Linked DNA regions of Homo sapiens: region 2 is linked to region 1. The links are contacts of gene promoters, found by promoter capture Hi-C in blood cells and fetal thymus (Javierre and others, 2016). All regions are on one chromosome and are shown on one strand. The core of a region is centred on a gene start or on the middle of the fragment in contact, and the rest is flanking DNA. Distances in the headings are between cores, read along the strand shown. Region 1 holds the start of FGG (fibrinogen gamma chain). Region 2 overlaps DCHS2 (dachsous cadherin-related 2).

Region 1 (6,521 bases), core at 1,703-4,202:
GAGGTTTAATAAAGTAAAGCCCGCTCTGTTTAGCTCCCTTATTGGCAATGTCTTGACAATCTAGAGAAGGAGAATCGACTTTTACTGTGGTTTGAAATGCAGGTAAGACTGTGCCAGCCTTGAAAAATAGCTTTTAACATGTAGTAAACTATTCATTTTCCAAGAATAATTTTCTTACTTTTCACATCAGCATTCCTTTTAAACTGTTTTTTTTAGCTATTCAAGAAAGGTCTAGACAACTGAAATTCTTAGACTTAATGGGTAGCCACTTTCTAAACTATTCCTATACTTTCCAGTACATACTTTCTCCTTTACATTACTTACTTTGATGAACCTAATCCCAATATAACCTTCATCAGTTACCTTTCCCAGTGATATCATGGATTTGCACCGTGTCTTTGCAAGGTTCCTGGCACTGTGCTTCAAGCTGGGCTACCTTCTCTTTCAGGTTAACAATCTTTTGATTATTTGAATTATATATTTCCTGCAAATATCTACAAACAGAAACATAAGATAACAAAAATAAGAAGACAAAAATAAGTATTCCTTTCAGAAGAGTAATTTTATATTTTCTTTGGAAACTGCTAAGTATTTTCTTAAGAAGTGCTTTCTGATAAATTATTCCATTCTTGAGGAAAATGTAAAATTATATTACTAAATTAACATGAATTAAAATTATAAACTTTTTGAAAAAGAAAAACAAATCAAAAAATCAATTAAAACAGGAATACAATGTGGACCTGAATCTTTTTACTTAGAATGGGGCATATTGTCTCAACTCCCAACACAAATAACAAAGTCCTTGTCAATAAGCAAATGTCATTGACATTTTGCTTTTTACTTTATGCATAAGGGACAGCAGATAGCAACCTGCAAGAGTGGCGGGACTGGTTAATAGGAACACCCCCTGATGCTTTAGAAGCAGGAAAAGCTCAGTTCAGTAATTCACATGTGCTGAAGGAGTATACCTTTCACTTGTGGATCTACTGAGGCTATACATATAAGCTTCAATCTAAAATATAACTTACACAGGGACATGATCTGGAACGTTATTGTATGTAAAATAAAACAACAGATACTTCCCCTTTCTTCTTTAATGCTTCTGGTTACATAGCTTTGGGAATGGACTGGGGGAAGTAAAAACCCTCCTTTTGTAGTTACTTACAGGGTGGCTTGCAAATATCCAAAAATGATAGAAAACTGTCTACAATGCATAAACCGTTCTTTCTTTGAAGTAAAAAAGGGTAGACAAACTATTTGTCCACGTTTTCCCTCTACCTTGTCTTAGGCAATTTCTGTACAATAACCTCCTTCAACTTCAATGATGGACAATAATAATGCAAGTAATAATAATAACAATAATAACAAGGGCCCTCTGATAGCAAAAAGAGGAGAAATCTTTCCTGGGCCACTTCTCCCTAGCTACTATTTATCTCAATTTCTCAAGCTGCTTTGAGAAAAATTCAGAAAAAAAAATTGGGGAAAAATATTAAAACTGTATCTGAGACCTTATGTTCAGAAAGTTTATGAGTCCCTGAGAAGCTTTAACAGAGACATTCACTTCCAAATGAAGGGAAGAGACTATGCAGGTTCATTCTGCAATGATCAATATGAGCTTTGCAATATTTGCCACACTTAGTCTCTCAAGACATGTTTCTTCCTGCTCCACATTCAATATAATTTACTTTAGGAGCCAAAATCCTTACTATGCCTCTGCTTGCTAATTTTTTTAACCACCAATTTGTCAGCATTTTTATAAAGAGGATTTTATTTTCAACACCCAAATTCCTATGAGATTGATTTTATGTTGTAAGATAAATGGGGGATGGGGAAAAAATTTTTGATAAATATGGTCAAACTAGCATTTGAAGACATCTAGAACATCTTTCTTCAATGTGATTATTAATAAGCAATTATAACCCAGTATAATTTATATTGCACTAAAAACTTCTATCTCTACTATGCTCAACATAATCAGGCATAATGTCACTGGGATATTATAAATGGGGAAAACACATTAAAAATTACTTTCACTCAAGTATAGAATATTAAATAAAAACTAAATCAGTCTTGCAGAGCAAATTAAAACAAAAATCCTTACCGAATACTTGAGTCATGTGTTAAAATCGATGCTTCATATTTCATAATTTCTTCTAACATTTTCCTGGACTTCAAAGTAGCAGCGTCTATCATATCTGTAATATAGGATCAGAGACATAAAAATCCTTAAGCAAATAGAACAACTAAAACAACAGCAAAAGAACTTCACAGATTATTATTATTATTTTTTGGTCAGTAGTCTTTATTTTCTCACTTGGTTTTGATGATTCATCAGGATTATAAGTGAGTTGGATTGCTTTTATCAGCTGTTTGACTTCTGATGTTTTGTTTTCAACTTGATGTAAGATGTCTTCCAAAGACTGTAGATCCTTGTCTACTTTGGTTTGATAAGTAGACAGGAAATCTGCAATGCCACAGGTAGTTGGACAATAACTACCCTGAAAATATAACAGTGATTAAAAATGTAGACAGATGCTACTCTTAAAATCTATTAAGAAAAATAGGTAAAACCTAGACTATGTTTTTAAAAAGTTACAAGTGCCAGATGATATTTATGAGGGAATTATTTCTATTCCTCTGCCCCTCTCCAGTTCACACACAAAGGGAGAAACATAAAAACTACTTACGAATCTTTCATCTAAGATGCAGCAGTTGTCTCTGGTAGCAACATACTAAAAGAGAAAAAATACAGAAATTTCACTAGTTTATTATCTGTTTTATTTTCCAGCTTTCCATTTTAAACAACGTTTTGTGAAGAGCACACTTACTGCTACACATGTTGAAGAGAGAAATAAAAGAGCATAGAAGTAGAGAATTAAATTCCGGGGGTGCAAGGACCAACTCATGATGTCTGAGTGCCCGGAGCTCCGAGCCTTGTAGTGTCAGCACTGTCACCTCTCAGGCTCCAATTGTCCCTTTATGTAAGCTCCTGGGATAGCCAGGACTGCAAATGGCTGGAGCTGATCACGGGGCCTCCTTACCAGAAGGGTGGGCAGGTCTTTCCCGTTCCTTTTTCCTCATCCTGGCCCCCAACCTATACTGTCAGGTTCCCAGATTTTGCACACAGGTTGAAGCTCCTCCTTTTTGGCCCAGCTCAAGGTTTTTTCTCTGATCCAAAATTATCTGCAAAGGCTAGTGAAGCATTATCCATTGCTGTGAGGAGGAGGGCAGTCCTGGAGGCTGTGTGATGCAACTTCTTCCAGTACATGGCTGAGAGCAAACAGATATGACCTCGAACTAAGCAAACCTAGTCTATCCTTAAGATGGGTCCTGCTGCCATCACCTGAATTACCAAAAGAACTTTCTTAGCTTAGGGATCAGTTAACACTATTATTTTAGCCTAGGGATCAGTTAACATTATTATTTTTAATCTGTGGCTGTGGCAGGAGGAGACTGACTTCCCCCATGTCCCAGTTCACTATTCCCAGGAATGAATGACCCTGGAAATACATTCCTGTCCCTCTGTGTCAACCATGTTCATAGGCTCTCACTTCTCAGGGAGCTTTTGAGCTCAATCTTCCCTTTGTCTGAAGGTGGGCATGGCACCCCATCTGCCACAGAGAAAAGAGCCAGGAGCCCACTTCATTGTTCCTGTGGTTCCATCAAGCTATCTCAGAGAAGAGAAAAATCCACCTCCCTTGTATCTAAGGAGAGTAGAGGCATAGCTGAAGGAAGGGGCAAAATGAGGTGCTGGGGAGGGGCCATCATTTCTGTTTGGCCCTTACAGCATCCTTGTGTTTGGGAAAACATGTCTGTCATCACTGCCTATTGAGATTTATCACTGGGCGTTACACTATTATTAATGTCTCTATTTTTGGTTATCCCTCATTTCTTCCTCTGGAACCAAGCTTATTATAAGTTTTGATGAAATATGTTAGTGGGAGAAATGCCTCCAGTTTGAAAGAAATACTAATACTTTAATTCTGTCTTTACAAAGGTATATTTATTGACTCAAAAACAAAGATAAATATTCATATTCAGTAAATAATCAATAATTATAACAAAGTGAACACATCAAAACCAGATTTGTTGCTTTTCTTCTCCTCCTTAATATATCCCTCTCTGACTTAGCAGTTATTGTCAATCATATCACCATACCACCAGCCAATTAAGTCTCACAATCTTTCTCATCCATCTTTTCCACTCAGCTAATCAGTTGTCAATCAAGTCAGTTGAATTAAACATTTAAGTATTAGTATTCTTTCAAACAGCTCTACCTCAGATAGCATTTGTAGCAACCTTATATTATATGTATACATGCTGTATCCACTGCATTAGATTGTAAACTGATTTCTGTGGCTACGGCATCTAACATATATAGCTGTACTTAACATAGTTGTAGTTAACACTCAATAACTATGTAATGACTTGAATCAGTTGCCTCTGTGAAGAAGAATGGGATGCAGAGGTGGAGGACAGGATTGGAAAAAAAGGCTTTATTTTTCTCTGTAAACTTTCTATATTTAGAATGTTGAATGTATATAAATATTATCTACTAAAATATATATAATGAAAATATGTAATTATTGATCATTCACAAAGATTTACATAGTACACTGATAATTACATCTTGCTAACTTTTTAATATGATTTGAACATGAAAGGTGACTCAGGCATTGCCTTTGCCTTCAAGAAGTGTGTAGCTCAATTGGAGAATGTATAAATAAATAGTTGTTAAGGCTCTGGAGTCCATCTCCCTAGGTTTGAGTCCCATCTTTACAATTTACTGGCTGTGTGATTCAGTACAAGTTACTCAATCTCCTTGAGTTCCATTATCCATGTCAGTAAAAGAGAGATAATACTTATGATATGGTATTTACTTAATAGGGCTATTACTAAGATTTAGTGGGATAATGTGTTGAGCACATTACCCAATTCATGGTAAGTGTTAAGTAAATGTTTGTAAGGTTTATGAATTACCAAATATATTTGGTATAAAATCTATGTAAATAGGAAACTCTTTTAATAGAGCTATTATTGGTAGATTTGGTTCACAGGGAACAAGCTTTGTTGTTCTAGCTACAGAAATTCTCTTTAATAAAAAATCTGTTGCAACTAACTGCAGTCTCCTTCTGTAAGATTCCCCAGAGAAGAAAGCACCTGGTCGTTTAGTTTAGGAAATTCTATCCAAATTGATTTTACCAATCAAAGATCAAATGATAATATAAATGGATTGCATGCCTTGTGAGAAGGTATACTTCCTATCTGTAAGAATGTTCAAGCAAAGTGTGTTTAGACAGAGCATGTCTTTGTGGTTCTTTTTGCTGAAGACCATAAAATATTAGTTTGTTGAATTTAGGGTAACAATTCATGCAGCCACAGGTTGGGTTCTGAGCTCCTTAATGTCATAAAGTTTCATTGGTTGTGTTAAGATATATAATATTCACAAAGTTGATAAACATTTAAATTGAGGACATTAGAAATTCTATCTTATCCCATTTTAGAAGTGGAATACTTGTATTACAGGCTTTTAACTGACTTATATTGGAATCCAGATGTGTTATCACAATTTTAGAGAAAATAATTTCCTTTTACTACAATCTCAAGTCCTAAATCCAAATCATATAAGACAAGATGCTTGCTCTCTGAGAAAAAAAAATGGTCAACAGTGATTTAGCGGTCTACATTGGCCCTGCATTCAATCTAGTATCACTTAGGTTTATTAAATTTTAACTAGTTTTTTCATGTTTGGGCCAATTTTTTCTTTGAAAAATGATAAATGATTGATGAATTCCAGGAATGAAGAATGTTTCTTAAATCACAGTTCTTCTACTTCCAGGTATGTTTTTTGAGATAATAGCATAGGTAGTATTTAAGCCAAAATAATCATTTACTGTAACTCTGAGGTCAGTGGGCTTGTTTATTGAAATAATAATGTCCCAAATTCCCTATCGTCCAACCGTTTGTGTTCTGATTTGAAAACACAAATCTACAGCTAACAGTCTTCGTGTATATTGGTAATTTACTCTGTGAGCCAAGTCTGTTACATTCATCTTTGCTCCAAAATTATTTGCTGAATTTAAATTTGATTATGTAGAAGACTTCTTGACCTAGTGACAAATGATATAGCCCTAAGGAATAATAGAAAGAACTACCAATTTTGAGCATCTTCTTTATGCTAGATATTATGTGGTAGTATAGTTTTTGTTGTCATGTATATTCTCTCATTTAATCCTCACCACAAGCCTAGGAAGTAGATATAATTACCTGTATCTTATAATGAAAAAAGAAAGGCCTAGAGATGTTGTGTAACATATGCAGGGTCAGTGTGCCAGAACAGGAACTCAAACCCATGGGGCCCAATGCCTGTGCTCTTAACCATGAATCTTAATACAACCATGAAGCCCTTCTTAATTTAAAATAATACACAGATACAAGGTGTTATGAGACTCAAAGTTATTCACTGATAGAATGGATTTTAAAGATGTGTGTGTGCATCTACATAACTGTGTGCATGATTA
Region 2 (6,521 bases), core at 2,915-5,414, 280 kb before region 1:
TTGCTTAACTTTGGATTCAATATTTATCCACACTGCCATGTATGAAATTCTATTGTATTCATTTTCATTGCTGTATAGTATTCCGTGAATATACCATATTATGCAGACAACTGAAACAATGCTTCAATGAATATCCTGTTACAGTCTCACTCTGCACATATAGAGTTCCTCTAGGGTAACAGAAGTAGAACTGCAAGGGTATAGCATAAGCACATCTCCAGTCTTATCAGATATTGCTTCATTGTTCTTCGAAGTCGTCACAACAAGGAGTCTGGGCATGCTTTAAAAACCTTTTTAATTATTCAGGCTTCTTTTCTTTGAGTTGTCTGTTAACATTCTTTGTCCAATTTTATTATTTATTTACTGGTTTTTCTTACTGGTTTGCAGGAGTTCTTAATAAATTCTGAATACTAATTTTGTATTGGTTACTGGACTATAATTATCTTTTCCCAACTTGTGACTTGAATAGTCACATTGTAAACAATGGCATATTTTGTAGTGTTTTCAATTTTCATTTAGTTTTATTTATCTATTTCTTTGTGAGCTTCTGCATTTCTTCTTGTTTAAACCGTCTTCTTTATTCTCAATGCCATATATATAACCAGTCTCATATTTTCTTTTGTAAGAGTTAAAGATTTCTACATTTAATAAGACTCATCTTTGATATGCTGAGAGTAGAGATATTTTTCCTTGTAGGTAACCGATCATATCAGCATCACGTATTGATAGTCCATCTTTTCCCCATTTATTTTCTACCCCCTCATATGTCAAGTTTCCGTACGTGTAAAGTGTGACCCCTACTCTTTTTAACTGGCCCATTTATTAATGAGTGAATCAATACAATAGTGTTTTAATTATGAAATTTTATAAATTAAGACTGGGTAAGGCCAACTTCCCACTTGTTATTTGGACATTGTCTTAGTTATTCCTTGTCTTTTGCTTTTCCACATGATGTTTAGAATCAGCTTGTCAAATTCTATCAAAGCCTCATTGAACATTTGATTGAAATCATACTGAATTAATAATGATATTTTTGTTAAGAATTGTAATCTTTAGGATATTGAGTCTTCCCAAGCATGAACATGATACAGCTTTTCATTTCATTCTTTTATGTCCTTCATTAATATTTTATATTTTTCTGTATGAAAGTCTTATACAAGTTATATTGGAATTTTTTCTATGCCCCTAATAGAGACAGATCCTATCTGTGTTGTTTTGAAGTTTGTACAGTTTGAGAGGCACTCCTTAAGAAAAATAAATTGTCCACTTCCCGCTCCCTGGGGAGGCTATGCAAGTAAAACACCGCAAAACTTAGCTTCATTAGTTTCACAGTAGATCTGCTCCTACCCCCTTTCATTTTCTTTGTGAATTCACCATAGTGAATGAGATCTTTGGAAACTGCTAAGTTTTAAAAATACCAGTGAGTTTCGTATGTTGACATTATTCTCAGAAAATTGGCTATTTTATTAATTCCAATGGGTTGCCTATAGCATCTCTTGGGTTTTCCATGCAGACAATCAAACTATCTGTGGGAAAGGGCAATGTTATCTCTTCTTTCCTATGTCCTATGTTTGTGTCAAACATGACAAAGCACCAAATGTCTTTTAAAATTATATAAAACACAATGCCAATTAAAGTAAATAACTGGAAAAAATCTGGGGCCTGCATGTTCCAACAGAAAACATAATAGTAAGCCCACTTCAATAAAATTTCCCCATACACACACGCATGTATACATGTGACATTTTCTAGGCATGATTTACTCTGACCTTACAAGTATTCAGTCTTCATAAAGATTTATAGATGCTTGGAACTCTTAGTCATACTTAATACCAATTCTTATCCCCTAACTAACACTTTCCTATCAATAAAAGTAAATTTGTACTTCACATTATTGCAAATTACTCACTAAAGATGAATGGTTTCTATTAAGAACGTAAAAAGCTACTCTGATTTTTTATTAAACTTTAAATTACTTTTCAAAAACTGAAAGTAGTTCTTGACAATAGCAAATGTATTTTGTTTGTAACTTGGTGCTTTTTCAAAACTAACTACAGCATTCAAAGTAATCAAAATAGAACTTCTTTTCCCAGAAGGGGATAGTTGATAAATGAAAGCAGAAATCCTAAAAGTTCTTAATCCCGTATGAACAGTAAGTTTTACCTGAAGATACTGAGTATGTAACTTCTGCATTATTTCCTTCATCAGGATCCTTTGCAAACACAGTTGTAACCAACATATTTACTGGTTGACCTTCCAGAACCTGCCATTAAAACAAACAGCTTACAAATGAGTCAGCAAAAGTTTAAAAAGAAATATCAGTGGACCTTTAAATGAATGAATACATTATACTAAACATTTTAAACTATCTTAAAATCCACATATAATTCAAATGCATACCATGTAAAAGTTATATGGGTGTATGTCCATGAAAAGAATCCTCCTTACATATTAAATCTTTTATTCAATTAGAATGAATTATCTGAGGCATCTGAACTAATTCTGACCAAAAGAAAAAGAAATTGAACTTGCTAAACAATCTTAGATTTTTGGTGTATTTTAAGATTTCTAGCATATTCTCATTCATCATCTCTTAGGACATTTTTTGAAAGGTGGTTGCTATGGCTTAAAATATGCTTAAAATAAGTATGAACCTTTAATTCAGAAAACAAAACTCATGCAGGACATACCAATTATCAGGAGCTGTCCTGCAATGTTGAAATGCACATGTGAAGTTCAACTACATGTTTAGAGTCCAACTGCCCAATTAAGCCACAGGACATTTTAATGATATGATTAAAAAGTGTAATGATGATATAATAATATTTTGCTTTGTTAGAATTTTTCTTTAAAGCTGGATTCAGATCAGTTTAAAGTTATGAGTTCCTCAATACTTTTGTTGAGTTGTTCAATATGTATATTTGAGCACAATTTGAATGTCTAATTCAATTGTTCTGGAACAGTAGCTTCTAAACTTTTCATTATTATAACCCATCCACTAAAAAAATTATTAGTAGGTCCAAACATATTTATTAATTATGTGAATGAACTGATATTCTAATTTATTATGTATATTATACAACATACAAAAAGACAAATGAAAAAGATGAGATAATATAAATATAATTGCCAGTTGGTGCATGTGATCAAAAGGATCAACTTTTACTATCTCTGGATTTCCACCTACCCACTTTAGAGCTACAGGTTGTTCCCCTACCCTTAAGTAACTATCTTAGAGACATGTATCAATTGCCGTTAAGAAGCTCTGCACAAAGAGATGCACGTAAACTACTGGAAAAACAAGCCATGTCTGAGCATTAACCTGAAGCACCATTCAGTTTGTGTACAAGGGGCTGAACTAAACTTATTGTTATAAAGCAACTGGAGGTACAATGCCAAAGAGCACATATATTCATTTACTTTTTAAAAATTTTCTTTTAAAATAACATGTGCACAGTATCTAGGTCTTCTAGAAAAAGTATGCTTTGCCACACCAAGACTGATGTGATAAATTCACAGGTTTTACCACAAGATGGTGCTCAAAACAAATGACTTAAGATATTACAAATTCATTGCAAGGTTTCTTCACAAACCTTCACGTGTAACTCCTTTCCAGGGAGACACTGGGGGAAGAAGGGCCTGTTATCATTGATGTCAGTAACTGAGACGTAAACCGCCATGGTGGCGTTTCGTGGTGGGGAGCCGCGGTCTGTCACTAGCACAGTCATCTCATGGTGCCCCCGGTGCTCACGATCCAGTGCCACCCAATTGATTAACTCTCCTGCAGAGTACAGAGCAGAACAAGACACAGGCACTGTGTACCAGGCGCACCAGGGCCAGAACCATTTCCAGAAGGAAAACCAAGTACAAAGCTTTGAGCAAATATGCGACTTCTAAGACCATCTACATAGTAGTTTGGCTCTATGGTACTGTTGAAAAAATTTTCTCAAGTTGCTCCTGAAAATGTCACTTTAAATTTGTTATTCTTTGTATTTCAAATTATCATCCATCGATCATTTGAACTAATAAACAATGAATTCATAAAAATGATAAAACTCCGTGGGAACTTAGTAATGATTTGGAAGATTTAAAACTGCTGCTTATCCCTCTTTATGCTGCTATACAGAATGATGGAAAGCATGTGAGCTCTGACACAGGTTCTGGCTTTGGCCCCAGTTTCCCCATCTCAGACATGGAATGACTCCTCTGAGCCTGGGACTGCTGTCAGGAAGAAATGTAATCACACATTTAAAAGTATTGTGCAAGCTATACATGACGACACAAGTGGAAGCTGTTATTACTACTTTAACATAATGGCTAAATACCTTTCTGGAAATCAAATAATATCCCTTAGGCAATAGTTCTTGTTTTATGCACACAAGTATTTGTTTTTTATCTCACAAAATATACATGTAGCAGTGGATAGTGACTTCCTATAAAAACTCTTAATGCTTTAGAAGCTTTATTTCAAATATTTCTGCCTAGAGCTATACTACCTTCAGTAACTTTCCTCATGTGTCAGCCATGCAGACCCAGGCATAACATCTAAGTGCCTCTTCCTATTGCCAGGGACCTTGGGAAGACAAGCACTCGGTCCAATAGCCTGTCAGAGCTCTGCCAAGCATTGATTTCCTCACCATTTATGAAAAAAAAATGTACCTGTGAGAATGTGAGCATGAAGCAGCTACCGACAAACATTTCTGTGGCTAAAAACTTTTTTCCTCTTAATACAAATAAAATAGCATTGCATTAAAAAAAAGTGGAAACAGGGAACAAAAATGAAAATTCTCATTTAGGTAAGTTGCTGAATTGGTGAGCTTAAATGCAGTGTTTATGATAACTGTTTACTGTTAATATATAAACTATATTTATAGTGTTTACTCGGTGGTTTTAATATAGATCATACACACAATTGCTTTTTTTAAATTCCAAACTATAATTCTCCTCCGAAGACCTTAACTTCTGAATGGCAAACAGATTTTTATTCATAAAGCAAATCTGATGGATAAGCAGCAGCCTTGGAGGTCGGGGATGTAAAAGACTGTGCAGCTCAGGCTGCAGCTGGGGATGGGCGACACCAGGATATGGTTCCACAGGAGCTCAAGTCCTGGTCACTTGTAGGACTGTCCAGAGAACTGGATGAAAAGGGGGTGTGTCTCCCAGGCTCTGAAGGACACCCTCCACCCTGCCTTGCCATGCTGTCCTTGGGAGGAGGAACAGTTTACAAGCACGTAGTGTTCCAAGCCCTTTCATATTCTTTAGCTCTTTACCCCTCAAAGCATGGCACAGGGCGTGTCAGGAATTGTCTCCTGTATTCATGGTAAGGAAGCAGCTCTGAGCTTAAGCTACTTGCTTAAAGCCATACAATGAAATTAGGAATGGACACCTCGTTTTCTTGTAGGGGAGGGAAGATCACGGGGGAATCAACTGTAGTTTGCTTATTTTAAAGAAAAAAACAAGTGAAATAGAAGACCTTGAAAACTAGCCATATGGAAGTAAAGTGCAAGCAGGGTCATCCCATATAGCTGTATGGTTTGTGCCCTTGCAGCAGGAGTCTCAGTTTAGGGAGTGAATGAGAGTGGAAAGGCAGCTTGCAACCTTCTTGGCAAGCCATGTGCCCTGTGAAAACCCTCCATCTGCTGTGAAAGGTCACCTTCTCCTAATTCACAGAACAGAGACTTGAGAACAAAGGCTTGAAGTTCATCAGAACTGAATGCAAAGTCTGTCCCACTAAAGGCAGCAGCACCATCTGCCCAGGTTATGACATAGATGGTGCCTGCTGGACCTGCACAAAAAGGGAGCTTCTTCTCATCTTACCAGCTCCATGACTTTGGGTGTACTACTCGAGCTATCTGAGTTTCAGTTTTCCCGGGTATGTATTTGCAGTATAGATATGTTTCATTGTAAGGATTAAATAAACTCCCCGTAAACTTATACAACATAAATTTTAAAATATAGTGACTTTTAATCTTTAATTTCTTAATTCAGACTTTAAAAATTTCACTGTAATTATTCCCCCTTTTCCTCTGGTTCCCCTGTCAGAATGAGAAAAAGGATATATATTCTTAGAGTGATTTTGAAATCTTAACCAATGAATTGATGTCTAGCTTTACATTGATGATATTTATATTTCACAAAATACGTTTTGACGTTTTTTAAATGTCTACAAATGGAAAAGGATGGTTGTTGAAAAAATTAGCCTTTACACAAGGATATATTCAATCCAGTTCTGACTATACCTCTAGTTCAGAAAAAGAACCATATATTGGCAAGATGGGGATGTGATGCAGGGAAAGTATGAATTATTATGGGTGAAACTCTATTCAATTTTTAATCCATTTTTAAGACCTCACAATAGAGTAATCGAATACCTTATTTATTAAAAACCATTATTTCAATTGCATGTATGCACTAATGCTATACCTAACGACTTGAGTTTTCTCAATCCTGATTTTGTTTAATTTTTTATTTTTATTTTTACTTAAAGACGAGTGTGATAGTACTGAACCCTCATTTTAAAG

What was found. The method cuts DNA at HindIII sites, captures the fragments that hold promoters and counts their contacts. A CHiCAGO score of 5 or more calls a contact.
Region 2: a contact is called between a fragment that was not itself captured here and the fragment with the promoter of FGG in region 1, in 2 of 17 cell types (naive B cells and total B cells). The highest score is 6.8, in naive B cells.

What each region holds. Positions count from the first base shown.
Region 1 is chr4:154,609,704-154,616,224 of GRCh38, forward strand. FGG (fibrinogen gamma chain) reads right to left here and starts at 2,953. Exons shown (of 9, transcript NM_021870.3): 1 at 2,829-2,953; 2 at 2,688-2,732; 3 at 2,315-2,498; 4 at 2,102-2,195; 5 at 364-494; 6 at 1-60. The coding sequence starts at 2,906. RefSeq lists an enhancer at 2,995-4,167. The HindIII fragment of the contact is 2,366 bases long and covers 1,541-3,906 here.
Region 2 is chr4:154,325,930-154,332,450 of GRCh38, forward strand. DCHS2 (dachsous cadherin-related 2) reads right to left here. Exons shown (of 20, transcript NM_001358235.2): 6 at 3,594-3,781; 7 at 2,164-2,263. Among named protein-coding and RNA genes, the nearest start is that of DCHS2, 160 kb to the right of the region's middle. The HindIII fragment of the contact is 588 bases long and covers 3,871-4,458 here.